6 separate regions of the Homo sapiens genome follow, and all the other regions are linked to region 1. Evidence: promoter capture Hi-C in human tissues and cell types (Jung and others, 2019). All regions are on one chromosome and are shown on one strand. The core of a region is centred on a gene start or on the middle of the fragment in contact, and the rest is flanking DNA. Distances in the headings are between cores, read along the strand shown. Region 1 holds the start of SALL3 (spalt like transcription factor 3). Region 2 has its middle 410 kb from the start of LINC01896. Region 3 has its middle 380 kb from the start of LINC01896. Region 4 has its middle 300 kb from the start of LINC01896. Region 5 overlaps ATP9B (ATPase phospholipid transporting 9B (putative)). Region 6 has its middle 270 kb from the start of LINC01896.

Evidence for each region. Contacts are between HindIII fragments. The study calls those that stand out against the background at their distance.
Region 2: a fragment that was not itself captured here is called in contact with the fragment with the promoter of SALL3 in region 1 in 3 of the 25 tissues and cell types used here (H1 embryonic stem cells, IMR-90 fibroblasts and mesendoderm cells).
Region 3: a fragment that was not itself captured here is called in contact with the fragment with the promoter of SALL3 in region 1 in 2 of the 25 tissues and cell types used here (H1 embryonic stem cells and neural progenitor cells).
Region 4: a contact is called between a fragment that was not itself captured here and the fragment with the promoter of SALL3 in region 1, in 2 of the 25 tissues and cell types used here (H1 embryonic stem cells and neural progenitor cells).
Region 5: a fragment that was not itself captured here is called in contact with the fragment with the promoter of SALL3 in region 1 in 1 of the 25 tissues and cell types used here (H1 embryonic stem cells).
Region 6: a contact is called between a fragment that was not itself captured here and the fragment with the promoter of SALL3 in region 1, in 4 of the 25 tissues and cell types used here (H1 embryonic stem cells, mesendoderm cells, neural progenitor cells and 1 more).

What each region holds. Positions count from the first base shown.
Region 1 is chr18:78,978,070-78,981,312 of GRCh38, forward strand. It overlaps SALL3 (spalt like transcription factor 3), which reads left to right and starts at 1,749. Exons shown (of 3, transcript NM_171999.4): 1 at 1,749-2,287. The coding sequence starts at 2,206. LINC01896 (long intergenic non-protein coding RNA 1896) reads right to left here and starts at 1,622. Exons shown (of 5, transcript NR_187297.1): 1 at 971-1,622; 2 at 394-669. RefSeq lists an enhancer at 3,166-3,243. The HindIII fragment of the contact is 21,440 bases long and covers 1-3,243 here.
Region 2 is chr18:78,571,150-78,574,392 of GRCh38, forward strand. No RefSeq gene overlaps it. Among named protein-coding and RNA genes, the nearest start is that of LINC01896, 410 kb to the right of the region's middle. RefSeq lists an enhancer at 2,752-3,243. The HindIII fragment of the contact is 3,961 bases long and covers 1-3,243 here.
Region 3 is chr18:78,594,894-78,598,136 of GRCh38, forward strand. No RefSeq gene overlaps it. Among named protein-coding and RNA genes, the nearest start is that of LINC01896, 380 kb to the right of the region's middle. The HindIII fragment of the contact is 4,580 bases long and covers 1-3,243 here.
Region 4 is chr18:78,677,885-78,681,127 of GRCh38, forward strand. No RefSeq gene overlaps it. Among named protein-coding and RNA genes, the nearest start is that of LINC01896, 300 kb to the right of the region's middle. The HindIII fragment of the contact is 5,655 bases long and covers 1-3,243 here.
Region 5 is chr18:79,261,935-79,265,177 of GRCh38, forward strand. The region is part of intron 12 of ATP9B (ATPase phospholipid transporting 9B (putative)); the gene reads left to right. Among named protein-coding and RNA genes, the nearest start is that of NFATC1, 130 kb to the right of the region's middle. The HindIII fragment of the contact is 5,737 bases long and covers 1-3,243 here.
Region 6 is chr18:78,710,426-78,713,668 of GRCh38, forward strand. No RefSeq gene overlaps it. Among named protein-coding and RNA genes, the nearest start is that of LINC01896, 270 kb to the right of the region's middle. The HindIII fragment of the contact is 5,899 bases long and covers 1-3,243 here.

The DNA of each region.
Region 1 (3,243 bases), core at 499-2,998:
GCTGCAAACTTTTCCCCGCCGGGCGCCTCTGCGCCAGATGCCGGAGCGTCTCCACAAAGCCTGAGCATCTGCACAAGTTCGCAGCCTAACTGCGGGATAAAGACGTTTCCCCCGTAGCTTAACTAGAAAAGCGCCATCGATGGGTGTGTTAAACGGGATAACTAGAGATTTCAAACACCTTTTATTTGCCTGTCTTGAAAAAAAAATCTAAATGAATACGCCCGCTACCAAAAGGCAAAATAAAACCAACCTTAAGGGTTTTTGTTGTTTTTTTTTTTTTTCAAAAGTGGCGATAGGGACTGTTTGGACCTGACTCCAACCTGCGCCCTCCCTTCCTCTATGACCCTCCTGCGCTTTTCCTGGAACCCAAAGCTCTGACTTCGTCAAACTTACACAATTAAAGGCAGGCGGAAGAACGCGGGCTGGGAAGCAAGCGGGAAGATTCTAGAATGGAAGGGAGCCCGCCGAGCGCCGCGAGCCGCGCCAGGCCGGGTCCGATGGAGCAGGCGGGGATTCCTCCCCCAGGCGGACCCCCGCCACCAGCCCTGCCGGGAGCTCGCGGCCTGCGGAGCGCCCGGGCTGGCCGCTCACCGCCCGCTTCCCCCAGCGAACGACTCGGGGAAGCTCCAGGAGGCCATCTGTGCTGACGGTTCACACCAGACAGGACCACTTGCAAGGACAAAAATAAGAAATTTAGGAAACGAAAAAAGACGTACTGGGGCGAGGGGCGCGGGCGCGGCGACGACGGGGCCGGGGGCACATCCTGGCGGCCGCTCGGGGAGAGAGGACACGCGCGGGAAGGAGCGCGGCGGGTGCACGGCCGCGGGTGGGAGTACGCGCCTGTGCGCGCGGGGCGAGGGCGAGGGCGCGTGCGTGTGACCGCGGGGAGGGGGCGGGCGCGTGTGCGGGGAGCGCGCCGCGCCAGGGGCCGAGTGTGTGGGGCCGATCCAGAAGTGCGCAGCCCCCTCACCTGGCCCCCGTGTCATCCCCGAAATCCCGGGAAAGGGTGGGCCGCGCGCGGGAGTTTGGTGGAGTTGGAACTTTCGGTCGCGCTCGCTGCCCACTCCGCTGGCGCCCGGTGGCCCGTGGTGAAGGGGGACTAGGGTGGGGAACACCGGGGCCCTGCGGTCCCCTCCCTTTCCTGTATTTAAGAAGCCGCCGGCGGCGCAGAGGCCCAGGCGGGCTGGCGCGGGGGCGAGGCGGCCCGGTGGCAGCAGCGGGCGGGGCGGGCGCTCCGGAGTCGGTGGGGCCCGCGGGTTGGGGGGCGGGGAGAGGGGGGAGTGGAAGGGAGGGGGAACGCAGGGGAGGGAGAGGAGGGGAGGAGCCGCGCGGCCCGCGCCGCTTCCGAACCGGAAAGTTGGTCTTGCCGAAGTCCTGCCACCCCGGCGTGCGCACTCCGCTCCGCTCCGGCCGCGAGCCTCCGAGCCCGGCCGGCCGCCGGGGGAAGCCCGCGGAGGGGACGCGGGGCCGGGCGAGAAGGTCCGGAGAGCGGGGGGCACCTGAGCCCGGGCGGGCCCGCCGCGCTGAGCGGCGCTGAGAGCCGCGGCGGAGCAGCGAAGGCGGCCGGCCGACCCCGCGCGCCCGGAACAGGAGGCGCGGCGCCCGAGCGGCCCGGGCGAGACAAAGGCGCCGGGTCGGAGCCCTGCCCGCGGCCGCTCGCTCCGGGAGGGGCCGCCCGGCGGCGGCGGCGGGGGGGGCGCGGGCGGCGGCGCAGACACTCTATAAAGGGGCGAGCCCGGCGCGCCGGCGGAGACGGCGCCGCGCGGACGCCGCCAAAGTTTGCTGCCTGCGCCCTGCGGAGGGACGGCCACCGCGGCCCGCGCCGCACCCGGGCCCCGCCACAGCCGCACCCGGGGCGGCCGAGGAGCGCGGCGCCGGAGCCCGCGATGTGAGGCGGCGCCGGGCAGCGCGCGCCCCGGTCCCGAGGCGCCGCGGCCCCCTCCTCGTCGGCGCGGCCGCTAATTGCGAGCGCGGCCTCATTTGCATAGGCCGCCGGAGTCCGCTGGAGCCCGGCCAATCGGCGCGGCCCTCCGCTAATGGCCATGCATTATTCACCAGCCTAATTGCTCAGCCCCATGCGCGGCCCGCGCAGCCGCCGCCGCCCCGCGCCCCGCGCCGCGCGCCCGCCAGGCCGCCCCGCGCCGTCCCCGCCGGCCGCCCCGCTGATGCCGCTGCCCCGCGCGGGGCCCGAGCGCCGCTAGCAGCATGTCTCGGCGCAAGCAGGCCAAGCCCCAGCACCTCAAGTCGGACGAGGAGCTGCTGCCGCCTGACGGGGCTCCCGAGCACGGTGAGGGCCGGGGCTGCGGGGTGGCCGGGGGGTCTGGGGCTGCCCGTCCGGGCTGGGGAAGCGCGTGCGGCGGGAGCGGATGCGCGCGTCCGGGAGCGGGAGAAAGTTCCCTGCTTCCTGCGGGCAAGCGTCCGCCCCGCGCCAGGCCGGCCGCGGGGCCCCGGGTACTTCGCCGGAGCGCGCGCGGCCGCCGAGAGAGTTGTGGGCGAAGTAAACTTGGCTCCTCTCCTCGGAGTCGGGGAGCTGCCCGCGAAGGGCGCCGAGGCCGCGGCCGGCTCGAGGACGGCTCGGAGGCCGGGGCGGGAGGGAGTCCACGGTGCCTCCGCCGCCGCGCCGCCCCCCAGGGTCTCTGCGCCAGGACGCTGAGGCCGGCGGCGGCGGGGAAGGCGACCGCAGCCCACCTACCGCTGGACGCGGGTTGGGGACCCCGCCGCCCGGCCAGCTTTGTTCGGGGGCCCGCGGCCCCTCCCGGGCCCCCGCACCGCCTCGGGTGACCCGCGGTGTCCCAGCGCGTTGACGCAGCCTGTGATCCCTCGCGAGGCGAGGAGAAGGTCGGGGGCTTGGCTCTGCCTAATGGCCGCCCGGGGAATTAAGCTGGGGGTGAGCGCAGCGGCGGCGGCCTGGGCCTGGCCCCTGCTCGCGGCGTGTTTCCGGGGCGTTCGTTGCAGCGTCTGCGCGGGCCTTTTCTCTCCCGTCTTTTTGGATCCGCCGAGGCCGGGCGCTGGAGACCTCGGCTTTGCAGTCATTTCGCTGGTAGGAGCGTCCTCTTCGAAACATCCAAGAGCAAAGGGCAGGCGCCGCGAAAGTTAAGAGACTGGCAAAGGGCTGGACTTCCCAGAGTGGCGCCTTAGCCCCGCAAAGTTTGGGGCGCCCCCACCCCCTTCGTCGAGTCAAAACCTCGGCCGGCGGCGCCCGGGCTTCGGCGCGCCCCGCGGGGCCCCCAGGGCGCCAGGAAA
Region 2 (3,243 bases), core at 413-2,912, 410 kb before region 1:
GTAGCTCAGCAGGGGTACTCACCTGATCCCTGGGCTGCTGCCACAAAAAGCCCCAGACAACTCCTCAGGCACAGTCGCACCCACTGGAGCCTGGTTCAGGGATGTGCCTTCTGCCGGGTCACTGGCTGAAGTGGGCGAGTCATCACCACCTTTAGCGCAGTTTGCTTATCTACAGAAAGGGCGTCATGGGGTCCTCCTCCTTCCAGGCTCATAGTGAACATTTAGTGCTCTCACCTAGACAGACCACCTAGCACAGAACCTGGAACCCCACGGTGTTAGCCGGCATTCATCCATAAAATGATTTCCAGCTAGATTTTCAGCCATGGCCTCTAGGGAACCGGAAATGTATTGATGATGAGAGTTGACGGGTGGATTCCCATTGTGTCTGTTTCAACTCCAAAGATGTAGCGGCAGATCCACAAGCAGATCAAGGGACCTCAGTCACAGGCCACTCCCTGGAGGCCACTGCCAGTGTCCCATCAGCAAGGACTCATTCTTTTGCGGGCTTCAGAGCTCAAATTCCTGCAAACATACAAATGTTTCTTAAATGTGTGTTGTGCAAATTGTCAGATTTGAAGTCAGAAACAACCGTGTTTAAATCCAAATTCCTGCCATTTCTAATTGGGTGGCCCTGCACACATTGCCTAGTCTTGACACCCCCCATTCTTCCCACTGTGAATCACATGGAGTGACTGACCTCATGGAGCAACAGCATCAGGAAGTGGCGCCTGTGAGTGTGGACCCGTAAGAGGTGGCGGAACCCATGAGTAGTGAAGGGGCCCGTGGGTGGTGGCAGAGCCCGTGAGTGGCGGCAGGACCCGTGGGTGGTGGCAGGGCCCGTGAGTGGTGGCAGGGCCCGTAAGTGGTGGCAGGACCCGTGGGTGGTGGTGAGGCCCATGTGAGTGGTGGCAGGACCCATGGGTGGTGGCAGGGCCCGTGAGTGGTGGTGGGGCCCATGAGTGGTTGCAGGACCCATGGGTGGTGGCGGGGCCCGTGAGTGGTGGCGGGGCCCGTGAGTGGTGGCAGGACCCATGGGTGGTGGTGGGGCCCCTGAGTGGTGGCGGAGCCTCTGTAGAGGGTCCCCCTCCCCCCACACCCCTGCCTACCTGTGCTGGGTAGGAGATGAGAAGGGACATTGGCCAGCAGTGTGTCTGCACGATGGGAAGCCTGGCTGACTTACCAAGTTGTAAAGCAAGTATCGGGGAACAGCAGTCTCCAGAGATGTCCTTGTCCCAGTCCTGGGAAGCTGTGAATGGTTACAGGTGAGGAGGACGGCAGTCTCCAGAGATGTCCCTGTCCCAGTCCTGGGAAGCTGTGAATGGTTACAGGTGAGGGGGACGGCAGTCTCCGGAGATGTCCCTGTCCCAGTCCTGGGAAGCTGTGAATGGTTACAGGTGAGGGGGACGGCAGTCTCCGGAGATGTCCCTGTCCCAGTCCTGGGAAGCTGTGAATGGTTACAGGTGAGGGGGACGGCAGTCTCCGGAGATGTCCCTGTCCCAGTCCTGGGAAGCTGTGAATGGTTACAGGTGAGCAGGAGTGAGCTTGCCCATCAACTAAGTTTAACTAAAGAGGTTTCCCAGGATGGACCAGGTGCTCTGACATAATGGCAGAGGTTCTGCAATGTCGGGGAGAAAGGCCAGAGAGCTGGTGGCAGGAAGTTGCTGTGTGAGAGGCCAGCCAGTGCTGCTGACTTTGGAGGTGGAAGAGGGACCAGGAGCCAAGGGGTGTGGGCAGCCACCAAAGCTGGGAAACTCAGGGATGGTTTCTGCCCTAGGGCACCCAGAAGGAACTCACCCTGCAGACACCCCACTTTTAGCCAATGAGACCCCTATTGAACATTAACCCCAGAACTGTGAAGAATAAATGTGTGTGGTTTTAAGCCACTAAGCTGCAGTGATTTGTTGTAGCATTGCTAGAAAGCCACACCAGCAAGGAGTTGGCATGGGGCATGGTGCAGGCAGCCCTGTTACTCTGGCTGAGCCTACATATGCACATCCTGTGAGAATCACATGAAAGCAAAGGGTGTGGGGCATGGAGGCTTCAGACCTGCGTCCCTGCACAAATCTCATGTCAAATTGTAATCTTCAGTGTTGGAAGTGGGATATGTTGGGAGATGATTGGAGCATGGGAGCGGATTTCCCCCTTGCTGTTCTCATGACAGTGAGTGAGTTCTCACAAGATCCATGGCTAAAGTGCGTGGCACTCCCCACCCCCCTTCATCCTGCTCAGGCCATGTAAGATGTCTGCCTCCCCTTCACCTTCCACCATAATTGAAAGTTTCCTGAGACCTCCCCAAGCAGATGTAGCACCATGCTTTCCATACAGCCTGGAGAACTGTGAGCCAATTAAGCTTATTTTCTTTAAAAATTACCCAGTTTCAGGTATTTTTTGTGGCAGTGAGAGAATGGATTAATACAGAACATAGGTGCCAAAGAGTGGAGCATTGCTATAAAGATACCTGAAAATGTGGAACCAGCTTTGGAACTGGGTAACTGGCAGAGTCTGGAAGAGTGTGAAAGGCTCGGAAGAAAACAGGGAGATGAAAGTTTGGAACTCCCTAGAGACTTGTTGAATGGTTGGACCAAAATGCTGAGAGTGATATGGACAATGAAGTTCAGGCTGAGGAGGTCTCAGATGGACATGAGGAACTTATTGGGAAGTGGAACAAAGGTCACTTTTGTTTCTTAGCAAAGCAATTAGCTGCTTTGTGACCTTGCCCTAGGAATCTGTGAACTTTGAACTTGAGAGTGTTGATTTAGGGTATCTGGCTGAAGAAATTCCTAATCAGCAAAGCTTTCAACATGTGGCCTGGATGCTTCTAATAGCCTATGTTCATATGCATGAGCAAAAATAACCTAAAACAGGAACTTATGTTTCACAGGGGAGCAGAGCCTACAAGTTTGGAAAATTTGCAGCCCAGAAATGTGTTGGAAGAGAAAAATCAATTTTCTAGGGAGGAATTCAAGCAGGCTGAAGAAATTTGCATATGTAAAGAGAAGCCAAATGTTAATTGCCAAGACAATGGGAAAAAATGCCTTGAAGCCATTCCAGAGATCTCCAGAGTACCCTACCCATCACAGTCCCAGAGGCATAGGAGAGAAAAGTGGTTTCCTGAGCCAGGACCAGGGCCCTGCTGCCCTGCACAGCCTCGGGACACTACTTCCTGTATCTCAGTCACTCCAGCTCTACCTGTGGCTAAAAGCAGACCAGGTTTAGCTCAGACCACTGCTTAAGAGGGTGCAA
Region 3 (3,243 bases), core at 297-2,796, 380 kb before region 1:
CTATGACCCAGGGATTGGGGACACCTGCTCTAGAGCCAGGACATATGGGGCCCTTGAGTCATGTTAGGACGGCACTTACCCCTCTTAGTCACCACTTTCTTATTTGTAAATGAAAACACTATTTGCATAATATGATATTCATGTATGTTAAATCTCACAATGCTATGTACACAACATGGTGCCAGGCTTCCGGTAAATTCTCAATAAATGTTAGCCCTGCTGTGATTTCTGAAATAATAAAAATGTGTTCAATTATGAAGTTCAAACTAAAAGGCAGATGGGGCTGCCTAGGGAATGGCCATTCCAAGACACCAAACTTCGCATGTTGACATCAAGTGAAAGCGTGTATGAGGATGTGATGAGAGGAATTGTTGCTAAAAATAAAGAATTCCAAACTTCTAATGAATGTATCTCATGTATGATACTATCACTTTATCTCTTTTAATTTCACAAGAACCCTAGGAGGCAGATTCTGTTAATATACTCAATTTTCAGGTGAGGAAATTCATGCTCAAAAGAGCAAGTTCTTTTTATAAAGTGTGAACCAGAGCACTTCGGTGCAATACCGCCTTTACTAAAAGATCAGGGGATAAAAATTGAAGTTGGGTGTGGTTATTTAAACATATATTACAAGCATAAGTACAAAATGCACTCCAGGGATAATAAGATGACTCAGCCACCATCCTTGCCTCAAGGGACTGTGGCTCCTAGGCTAACGAGTTCCATCAGATCTAGACATGGGCTGGGCACTTTCTTCACACTTCAGCAACAGAGCTGGAAATGTCTGGACAGCATGTGCTCACGTTGTGGCCTTTAGAACCTGGAAGCACCAGAACTGAAGCTGCTGTTCCCGGTTTGGATTTTTGAAGACACCTGTGCTGAGCACTGAATGCTAATAAACACTTAGATATAAGTTGCTGTCTATGCCAAGTTATGATTGCCAAAGTGTGGTTTTCCCATTAACTGATGCCTCATGGGCTCCTTTCCAATTGACTTCTCAGTGCAACTATCCAAACCCCTTCCCCACCTAGAAGCCTACCCATTTATAAAGATGATAGTTAAGTTGTACCTCTATAAGAATTCCCATAATACTTTCAAAACTTCGATCATTCAATGCCTGCTGACAAATGATGGAACCCAGCATGGCCTGGGTCTCCTGTGGCCAATGCAACTGCAGTGTGGGTGGAGCCCTGCTGGGAGTCTCTAAACCTCACACGCTGTGCTCAGGAGGGCAGATGACACCCCGCCATGGCACAGCTCTGGAGCTGGGCTGGAGCCCCAGTTGTCTCAGCTTTGATAAGGTTTGTCATGGCACCTGTGTGTTCTTTCAGGATTGCAGACCACTGGAGCTGATGGTGAGACTGAATGAGGAAGACACAAAGCCTTCACTTTATTTCTAACAGGGGCAGCGTCTCCTCTAGCCAATCGATTTTGGAGGTTAGAATGGTAAGCGGTGACAAGCATCAGCCTGGAATTCGACAGACTTGGAATCACTTCCTGGTGCCATTTACCAGTTGTCAGGCATCGGTTAAGTGGTTTAACTCCTCTCAACCTCCATTTCCTCACCTATAAAATAGACACCGTAATGTCTGGCACTCATGAGTCATTGTGAGGAGCTGAATTTCAACCCAATAAATATTTTTAATCTTTGAATGGTACTCATTCTTTGATAATATGTGACATAATTAAATCAATTGTTCACTTAATCAGACTGTGTCTTAGTTTTCAAACTTAGGAAAAAGAGATAACATCTTCCTACCTTAGTTGCATTGCAGAATTTGAGACTTCCCACAGGGAGATAAAAAAAGGTCACATATAAGCATCACTGAAAAGCAAGAGTGACATTGAATCATCATTGCAGTACAATTATATTTTTCCCACAAAATGACTTAAAATTGTAGTATTTATTATTATTTTTCTCAAGTGTAAATACAAGGAAATCATGCTAAATGTTACATTTAAGAAAGTGCCATAAAACAACATTAGTAGGAGTCATATGAGATAAGGGAGCAAGAGGAAGAGAGAGAGAGCTGTCACCAGCAGGAGCCATTGTGATTCGAGCTACAGAAATTTCAAAGACACTAAAGAGAAGTGAGTCAGAGCCCCGGCACTTCTAAGATGCTTTTGTGAACTGGAGCTTTCAAATAGTTTATGAGGTAATCACAGCAACCTTAAAAAATCTGGTCTAGGAGGGAGAAGGAAACAACACACCAACACTTGGAAGACAGCGGCTGTTCCATCCGTGCAAAGCAAGCTATTTAGTGATGTTCTTCTCACATTAAATGAGCCAGGAGACCACACACTTAACTATGATTTTAAAATTAATTATGCCTCACCTCATCATAGTACTTAAATTGCATTTAAGTTGTTTATTCATGCGTCGGACTTGTCAGATGAAAAATGCATTTTTGTCCTGAGGCCAACCTGCAGTGCCTGATGGTGAACGTGCCCGGTGTGATCCCAAGGCCCATGGGGAGCCTGAAAAGAGGGTGGCGAGGGGTCTTGCATGCGGTGCGACCCCCACGGTTAGAGCTCCGTCAGTTCTGCAGTGGGTGTCGATTATTTAAACGATTACACTAAAAGTAATTTCACCATCATTATACCAGATTTGCATTTTGTTTAAATAAAAATTTTTTAACTGTAAACTTTAAGATGTTAAGGAATGTAATGATTAAAAAAAACTTCAAACAGAGTAATTCAAAAATAGATCTCAATCTTTAACTGTAAGTCATCACAGCAGGTCAGTCTACAGAAAAATTCCCCAAAACTTAAACAGTGTGGAATTGAATACTTCAGTGTATTCTTCTATATAAGCTTTAAGAAAAGAAATGAGGAAACCCATGGAAAATGATACAAAATGTTAGGTTCAGAGGAAAATGTCCTATTGACCGACAAAATCCCATAAGTATAGAACCTTCTGAGTAGTTCATAATAGAGATGGGGAAATCTCTTTCTTCGCCTCTCCCCAAATTCAGGAGAAGATAAATATAGATACAGGTACATTTGCTGATTAAGAAAGATTCTTACAATGTTGAAGTCTGATGATAGCTCACCATCTTTCCCCAGTGGCAGGTTGGAAGGTGGTACCATCTTTCCCCAGTGGCAGGGTGGAAGATGGCACTATCTTTCTGTGGTGGCGGGGTGGAAGGTTTTACCATCTTTCCCCAGTGGCAGGGTGGAAGGTGGCACCATCTCTCCCAAGTGGTGGGGTGGAAGGTGGTAGCTGATGTCTAAAGTTTGTAT
Region 4 (3,243 bases), core at 407-2,906, 300 kb before region 1:
GACCCTCCCCCAGGTCTGCGGTGACCTCTCGGGACCCTCCCCTAGGTCTGCGGTGACCTCTCAGGACCCTCCCCTAGGTTTGCGGTGACCTCTCGGGACCCTCCCCCAGGTCTGTATTAACCTCAAGAAAGGCTTTCCTTGTGTGTCTCACCTCTGCTTCCCAGAGCTGCCACAACAAACCACGGTGTGTGCTGAAGCGAAAGCACCCAGGAGAGGCCAGGCTTCAGGTGCCCACAGAAAGCACCCAGGAGAAGCCAGACCTCCGGTGCCCACACAGCGCTGCCGGCTTCACTTTCAGGGCAGCATCCGATAAATCATGAGATCTTCAGCTCTTACTGTACAATCATAGGCTTCGCATTAGATGACCTTGCCCAACCGCAGGCTAACAGGAGCATTCTCAGCATGTTTAAGGCAGGCTGGGCTGAGCCATGATGCTGGGAATATTCGGTGTATTAAATGCTTTTTCAACTTAATGATTTTTCAACCTACGGTGGGTTCCTCCGAACTTAACCCCATGGTAAGTCAAGGGGACTCTGTACCCAAACTGGGTGGCTTAAAACAACAGAAACGATTTCTCACACGGTTCTGAAACCCACAAGCCCCACATCAAGGTGTCATGGGCCCTGCCCCCTCTGGGGCTCCAGGGGAGAATCCTTCCTGCCTCCTCCATCTTCTGCTGGCCCCAGGTGTTCCTTGACTGTGGCTGCCTCTCCCGCTCCCTGGGTCTCTGTCCTCATCTTCACAGAGCCCTCCCTCTGCCTGCGCCTTCTCCTTTTCTTATGAGAACACTGGTCCTCAGATGCGGGGCCCACCCTAAGTCTAGGATGGTGTTGTCTTGAAATTCTTAACTCATTAAATCTCCCAAAACCTTGTTTTCTAATAAAGTCATATTCTGAAGTTACAGGTGGACCTGAATTTGGAGGGGATACTGTTAAACAGCCACAGGACTTAAGGAAGATTCTGCCCCCCAAGAGAGCTGTGTTCTGAGCTAATTTTCTTTCCCCCCACATCTAACTAGGAAGAGCATCTACCACTTGGCAATTCTCTGCCAGTTTCCAGGAACAGTGCTAAGCCGTTAGGTCTATCATCTCAGTTAATCCTCATGATAACCCCAAAAGGAGTCATCATCGCTCTTCTTTCATAGGGCAGAAAACCGAGGTTTAGAAAAGTTAAGCTACTAGTAAGTGGCAGAACAGGAACTTTAACCAGGCCTTCACCTCTGCAGCGGGCAGCCTCTCTTGGAATAGAAATAAAGGAGACTCCCTGAAGAAGACCTAAGGGCTGAAAAGATGTCACCAGCCGCAAGAGATCCAGCGCCTGCGAGGTCCCTGGGAGGATGTCTGTCCCAGTCTGCAGTGGGCTAGATCCTGGCAATGGCTGAGGAGGGCCGTGGCGCCCCAGCCTGTGAAACTGTACTTCCTGGCCTTGTGTTTGAGATGACGGCTGCCTGATATGGCTAATGAATTTTACAATCGAAAGCTAAAGTGAATTAGCTGTAGCAGATGTTTTTACTCTGGGAACTACCAGACCTTTCTGGCCATTCATTTATCCTTCAAGGGGATAAAACTTTCCCCCTCTATTATGTGTTGTCATTGGAGCATTGCACAACTTTATCAAACTTTTTATTCTGGAAACTGAATTAATTTTCTGCAAGGGGGTTTTTGTGTGGCTCTTTAATCACATTTACTGGGGAACATGTGTACGGAGGGCTGGAGAGCCGATTATGGCTTCCAGAAAGGCCACTTTCAAAAGGAGATTGCCCTCGCTCCCAAGGCCTCCATCTGAAGGTCCCTGGGTTTTGTGAAGAGGAAAAAATTAATTACTATTTTAATAACGAAGCCAGGCCTGCTGAAAATCCTCTTAGAGAGTAGCCGGGTGATGTAATGGCTCGCAGGGGGGATATTGAAAGCGCTGGCCACACAGCCTGCCCTGGCCTCCCTATTCATTCCCTGTAAGATGATACGGGCTGCCGGGTCACACATTAGGGAATTAAAAATATAATAATAACACTTGTTTCTTGGGAAGGGGAAAAGTTGTGATCCTGAGATAACAGGTTGGCAGAAATTCACTCTCAGGCCTCCATCTTTGCCAGACGCTCCAAGCGGCTGGACAGGAAATTGGGGCCCTTCTCCCTCAGCAGGTTGGCTCCACAAAGCCTCCAAATTCTGGCGGCCGCCGACAGATCACCCCCAGGACAGCAATGCATGAGCTCTCAGCAGTGCTGAGACATGGGGGACTCGGGGGTGCAATGGGTGGCTCGTAGGCTCGTGTCTTTCCAGGACCCAGGAGAGGACGGGACTTGCATTCCAATCTTTAATCCTCCACACACATCGTCTTTCTGGCTTCTAAAAGAAAAAATTGAGCTTCAGGTTTTTTCTTTCTTTTCATGTGCTTTTTGTTTTTGTTTTTGTTTTTCGGTTTTTTTGGTTTTTTGTTGTTGGTTTTTTTTTTTTTTTTCTTTGAGATGGAGTCTTGCTCTGTCGCCAGGCTGGAGTGCAGTAGCACAATCTTGGCTCGCTGCAACCTCCACCTCCTAAGTTCAAGCAATTCTCCCACCTCAGCCTCCCAAGTAGCTGGGACTATAGGCACCCGCCACCACACCCAGCTAATTTTTGTATTTTTAGCAGAGACGGGGTTTCACCATGTTGACCAGTATGGTCTCGATCTCTTGACCTTGTGATCCGCCCACCTCGGCCTCCCAAAGTGCTGGGATTACAGGCATGAGTGTTTTGTTTTATTTTTCCTGAAAAGTGAACATTTTGCACCAGAATTCTAACTTGGGGTGTTGTTATTGCTATTGTTAATTCTGCACTGTTTGTCTTCTTCACCAGGCAGTGGCCATGTCAGCAAAGTGAGGGCAGGATCTCAGCCAGCGAGTGCCGTGGAACTCAGATCCATGCGAGCTCCTGCCACACTCTCACCGATACAGATAAAAATGCTAATGCTTGGGAAGCAGGTGCAGAGACAGTAAGGCAGAGTCTGTTCTTCATGCGAGAGAGCCCACCACCAGCCGGCCTCTCTGTCCCATACCCGAGTTCCCCATCTTTTGCCTTTTTTCTCCTTACCACCTTTCCACTCGTCTCTTCTCCCCGCCTTTTCCTCTCCTGCCTCCATATTCAGAAAGCATGCCCCTGGTACCGGGTTCTGTCTGCACTCGGGTTGGAGGCAGTAAGTCCCCCGCCCTGAGAAACACACAGGACCAGGTACAGGACACGCGGAAGGTGGCACCCAGCCAAGGAGGGT
Region 5 (3,243 bases), core at 323-2,822, 280 kb after region 1:
TGTGTAACAGTTCTTCATTTACTCACCATCCGAGTATGTGCTTTTGGGAGGTGTTGTGATGGGCCATTCAGCTCAGTACACGCCCCACGCTGCTGTGTGTGAGGGTGCAGGGATGAATGGCGTGTACCCTCGGGGCCCTGCAGCTCAGTCCTCAGCGTCTTCATCTGGACACCCCGCTCCCCTCCCTCCCTCCCTCCCCTTTCCTTGCTTTTTCTCTCCATAGAAGTAAAAATTATCTGAAACTTTAATTCCTCCTCCTCTCCCCACAACCTAGCCCTCAACAAAAGCCAAAAACCATTCCCTAAACATTCAAGTTTGTTTAGAATTTTTTTTAAATATATTTTTCTTTAGGAAAAAAAATACTTTTCTATAATTTATGTTACGTTTTTAGTTACTGAGCATGGCTAATTCATGAACTCTCATCACTAGTTTTATCTAAAGTTTATATAAAGTTGAAATAAAACAAAGTTTTATTTTATATATACAAACCTTATTGCCTCTAATTGTGGAAATAGTGCTGGGGAACAGAGAAGTCATTTGATAGAAAAAGGGCATAGTTTAGAAGTAATTTTGGCTAAAGAGCCCCTTTTTCTGGTTCACTTATTTGAACTCAGAAAATTCAGAGTTCTGAATTTGGGGAAACAATTTGAAACATTTCTATGATGAAGCATGTTTTCCAGATTTTAAGGTCAGTGGAGATGCTGTGACAGGAAACCTGGTTAATACTGCTTTTGTAATACCACAGTCCATCCCCTTTACGTGGTACATATGCCAGGGATTCCATACATGAACCCTGAGGGTCCAGCGTGGCTGCAAAAACCATCTAGCACTTAGCACCCGTATCTTCACCCAGTTTCAGAGTTAAGGTGCCATACACGCTTAAGATGTTTCCTTTTATACTTTTTCTGTATAAATCTCTTATTAGTTATAGCATGAATTATGTGCCAGTTTTTATATTGGCTTAGAAAATATATTTTTGCACAATTCATTTCATTTCTTTTGAAATAATCACTGTCTTGGCTTTAAAAAAATTATAGTTAACAAATTTATTTTAATCTATCAAAAAAGTTATTACTTCTTGTTGCACAAGCTACTTCAGCAGCCTTTGAGCATTGTTTTATTTTGTAATGTGTGGGCTTTACAATTTTTATTTCATTTTTAATAGACATATATATTTATGAGATACAATGTAATGTTTTGGTATATGTATACAATGCTGCTTTTATGGTTAACTTCTTGCTTTTCCTAAAGGTTTGCCACCTAAAAATTGCATATATAAATATATGCAGTCATCTCTTGGTTCCCATGGGGGATTGGTTCCAGCACCCTCCATGGATACCAGAACGCATGTGTACCCAAGTCCCACAGTGGGCCCTGCAAAACCTACCCGTGGGACAAGTGGACCCTCCATGTCTGCGGGGTTCGCCTCCCAGGAATACTGTGTTTTGATGCATGTTTGGTTGCAGGTGCAGAGCCCTCAGATACGGAGGGTTGACTTGACTTACTAAAAAGAGTCCATATCTGAGAGGACTTGCACAGTTCAAACCTGTGTTGTTTGAGGGTCAGCTGTGAATTAGTTTTTCCTGTTTTGCTAGTTTCTATAATTGAAATCATACTGGATGTTTTCTTTTTGTCTTATTCCTTTTGTTTTACATGGCTGTGTACAGGACGTTGTGTTGTCTTCTTCTCATTTCTTGCAGCTTGTCATTCTCTTGCATGAGCACACTCCAGTGTATTCAGTGATCCTTTCTGCTGTTTTGGGGTTTGGGTTGCTTCCAGTTTTTTTACAGTGAGCAGCAGTGCTGCTATTAACATTTCATGATGTGTACTCCACACGTTAGCACCCTGGTATAAGATATCTAAGAGCAGGCCGGGCGCGTTGGCTCACGCCTGTAATCCCAGCACTTTGGGAGGCCGAGGCGGGTGGATCACGAGGTCAGGAGATCGAGACCATCCTGGCTAACACGGTGAAACCCTGTCTCTACTAAAAAATACAAAAAATTAGCCGGGCGTGGTAGCGGGTGCCTGTAGTCCCAGCTGCTCGGGAGGCTGAGGCAGGAGAATGGCGTCAACCCGGAAGGCGGAGGTTGCAGTGAGCCGAGATCGCGCCACTGCACTCCAGCCCAGGCGACAGTGTAAGACTCTGTCTCAAAAAAAAGAAAAGGAAAAAAAAACATATCTAGGAGCAGCACTACTTGGCTGTGTTATTTGTCAAATTTACCAGATAATGTTTAACTGTTTTTCAAAGTGTTTGTACCAATTTACCATTCCAACATCAGTGTGGAGAATAGTTCACATCCTCAGCAACACTTAATATAAGTGGGCTTCTCATTGCAGTTTTAATGATCATTTCCCAGATTGATAATGAGACTAAACAATTATGCACATATATATTAGCTATTTAGATTTTCTCTTTTGTGAACTTTCTAAGTCTTTTGTCTGGTGTTCTGAGCAGCTTGCAGTTATTTATATATTTTAGATGCCAAGGCTTTCTCGGCTTATGTTTTGCTGATATCTTTCTCAATCTGTAGTTTGACTTTTTACTCACCCATTGGTGAAATTATGAAAAAACAGTTATTGATTTTACATGCCAAATATATGAGGTTTTTTTTTTGTTGGTTATCACTTTTTATGTTGTTTAAAAAATCCTTCCCTACTCCAAGGAGATGAAACTCTCCTCTTACATTATCTTCTAGAAGCTTAACTGTTTTTCCTTTGACCACTGTAAGTGTTTTTTGTTTTTTTTTTTGATATATATGGTGTGAAGTACAGTTTTTAAATACCATATTTCTGCAAACCAATTGTCTCAGCACCAGTTATAGAAAAGACTTTTCCCAGTGACCTAGTGCCCCGTCTGCCATGTACCAAGCATTTGTATACACATGGGCCTGTTTTGGTTACCTGTTCTGTTCCCTTGGACTGTTTTTGTATTCTCGCCAAATAACAAACTGTGTTTGTTAACAGACTTTTATAATAGTTCGATGTTTGATAGAACAAGTCTATCCTCATGTGCAGGTTTGTGATATAGGCAGACTTGTGTCATGGGGGTTTGTTGTACAGATTATTTCATCACCCAGGTATTAAGCCTAGTACTCATTAATTATTTTTGCTGATACTCTCCCTCCTCCCACCCTCCAGCCTCCGACAGGCCCCAGTGTGCGTTGTTCTCTTCTGTGTGTTCTCACATTTAGTGTGTTCTCACCATTTAGCTCCCAGTTTTAAGTGAGGACATGTGGTATTTGG
Region 6 (3,243 bases), core at 494-2,993, 270 kb before region 1:
TAAAATTGCGTGACAAAAATATATCTTGCCAAAGCACAATAGGTCAACGCGGTATCCAAAAGATGTTTTATTAATTTCAGTGATGTCACTAAAACTACCATTTTAATTCAAATGCATAAACTTTATGTCAAGAAACACATGAGGTGTGAGGATGCTGAGTTATGAATATATGAGAGTCTGGACACTGGTTTCAAGGAGTTTATCTGAATTTGCTCATGTACTCAAACTAGCATTCATTGATCACTTATTAGTTACACCTATCAAGTGCTGTCCTGGGGACAGAGATAACAGTGATCAAGACCAGGTCCTCCTTTTGTAGAGTTCACAGTACAGTGGGGACTCAGGCGGAGCACAGCTCAGTACCAGGGAAAGGGGTGTGCCCTGCCCCCAGGCGGTTAGGGAGGGCTTCCTGTAAGAAGTGGGACCCCAAATAGAAAGAGTTTACACAAGCAATTGTGGGGAAGAGAACCTGGATAAATGAAAACCAAATCAAATATGTAAACACAGAGGGCACTCAGTCAACATGCGATCACTAACAAATTTGATTGATTAACTCATGATCAGATGAACTTTCTTTGCAGAGGCCAGAGGAGAGCAGGGTGAGGAGGGAATGTGACCAGTCCAGGGTCTCACCTGCTACTGAAAACAGAAAATGCCAGATTATAATCTTCCATTCCTGGGCAATCAAAAAATGGCACGAAGGATCATAGGACACGAGTACCTCCCCTAAAAAGAAACAGAACAAACTGAGGAGTCCTAATTTCCCCCCATCTTCCCATTCCCAAAGTAAAAGGCAAGAGTCAGCCTAGACAGGATGCCGTCGGGGTGCGGGGTTTGGAGCTGAAGCAGACATTCTTTACAGAGAAAATACATGGTGCTAAAAGCCAGCAAAGTTGGTGTTCTTAGAAGTCTGAAATAAAATATCAGTGACACCGAATCCTAGTGGAAATTATGGAGTCAGTAGCAGGAAGTCAGGTAAGAGAAACAGGCCCAAGAATGTGGCACCAGAATGTGAGAAGGAAAGAAGCACTTGGAAGCTGGGCACAGTGGTTCACGCCTGTGGTCGCAGCAACTCGGGAGGCTAAGGCAGGCGGATCGCCTGAGCCCAGGAGGTCAAGGCTGCAGTGGGTGATGATTGCACCACTGCACTCCAGCCTGGGCAACGGAGCAAGACCCTGTCTCTAAAAAAATTATTTTTAATTAAAACTTATCTGAAAGAAGAAAGGGTTCAAAGCAATTGCCCTAACCCCCATGGGGAGTCTTAGCTGCCTTCAGAGGTGGCCAGCGCACCCTGGGCATCTTAACAAGTCAGGGGCACTGTGACTCCTCAGAGGTACAAGACCCTAAATGCCAAATGCTCTGCTGGACAGAGCTGCTCAACTGTGGCTCAAGAAAGATCCTCTGCCTCAACAATTTGAAGCATCAATCCTTCCAAGTTTACTTCTTTCCATTCTACCTGTCCTATTCTAGTGGGATGGAGCTGAGTTGCATAACTGATAAAATGTTCCATGTTGAGTGCCTCAGATCCTGGAAACTATCATGGTATGGACTGCAATTCATAAATGGAAGCCCTAATCCCCACTCTGATGGAGTTTGGAGATGGGCACATTGGGAGCTGATTAAATCACAAGGCAGGAGCACTTGCGAATGGGATCAGTGCCCTTATGAGAACAGACAGGAGGGTTCTTCCCACTGCCCACCCTTCACCACGTGAGACTCAGCAGGAAGATGGCAGCTGCACCCAGAAGAGGTCCTCCCCGGACTCCGGCCCTGCTGGCACCTGTGCTTGGCCTTCCAGCCTCCAGCTTTCCAGCCTCCAGTACTGTGAGAAAATAGACTTCCACTGTGTGAGCCACAGTCTATGGTATTTTGTTATGGCAACCCAAGCTGACTAACACATATCAATTGACAGAATCCCAGAAAATTAGAAAACTTTAAAACACTCTTTTTAAAAAATTCTCTCAAGGCTCTTGTAGAAACAAAACTTACATATTAAACCAATACTTAACTAAACAAGGATAGTATTTAAATACCCCTAATCTGTTGGAAAATGTTCAGGTTCTGAACCACCTTTACAGATGCAGGTTTTTTGGTCCTTTCTGAATGACACTGTAAGATTTGAGCCTTTTATTAGATCATATGACAAAAGTATGTGACCACTGGCCCCCGGGAATGGGAGAATGAGAAGGAGAGTTGCTTAGACTTCTTGTTCTACATTTCTGTAGGGTGTGTGATTCCCCCTGCAAAGGTGAACATACAGGGTGCCTTGGGTGCCTGCTCTCTGGCAGGGCAATTGAGTTCTGTGCCAGTATTTGTCCAGTAAGCATCCTCATTCACAAATCAATGGAGTGTCCTTGTATGCAAAAGGAACAGAGAAAGAGCTACCATCTCAAAGAACTATATCCACCTAAAGGCCATGGGAAATGTATGGTGGAACAAGTCAGAACCCAAGGCATACAAAACATGATGAGAATAACAATTGATACTAATTGAGCACTTACTGTATACCAGGCACTTGTCAACGTGTGTTCATGAATTATCTCAGTATTGCCACGCACTAATAGAATATTATTATTCTCATTTTACAGACAAAAAAAGCTAAGAAAAAATGTGAAGTCATTTTCCCAAGTTCACAGAAAAGTGGTTGGCAGAACAGGGACTTCTATCTAAAAAATGGACATTTGTACATTAATTGAAACACACAAATACATGTACAGCCACGGTAAGAAAATATAAAAAGAAAAGAAAACCAGAACTTCCCAGCAGCCAATAGCCAGGGGCGGACAGGCCTGAAGACAGATAGTGACTGCTGTAGACATGAGTTTGTGATAGGGTCCGCGACCCCAAGTGTGCTGCTGTCCATGGTCCTGGAGGATTGTCGCCTAACAGGGTGTGGCTGTTTCTCCTCATCCCGGGTAACTGGGGATCCTGTCCTGGCTCTCCAAGGAATGCTGAGCTATATACAAGAAGTTCCATGGTGAGAAAAGTGGGAAGCAGAGAGAGAAAATTCTGGAGTCACAAACACTGTCAGATTCCAAAGGAGAAAGCAAGAATTTGTTTTCAAATAACTCCATGTAATATTTATTTCAGATAATTGGAAAGAATATGGTTTTTCTTTTCAATGTACTCTCAAAAAGCAGTAATTCACCGAACACTATGACACCTATGTTCGTGTGGGTTTTCCGGCTTTTCACTTTAGGCCAAAAGCTCCCAAGTCCTGGTTTCTGCACCACATATTGCCTT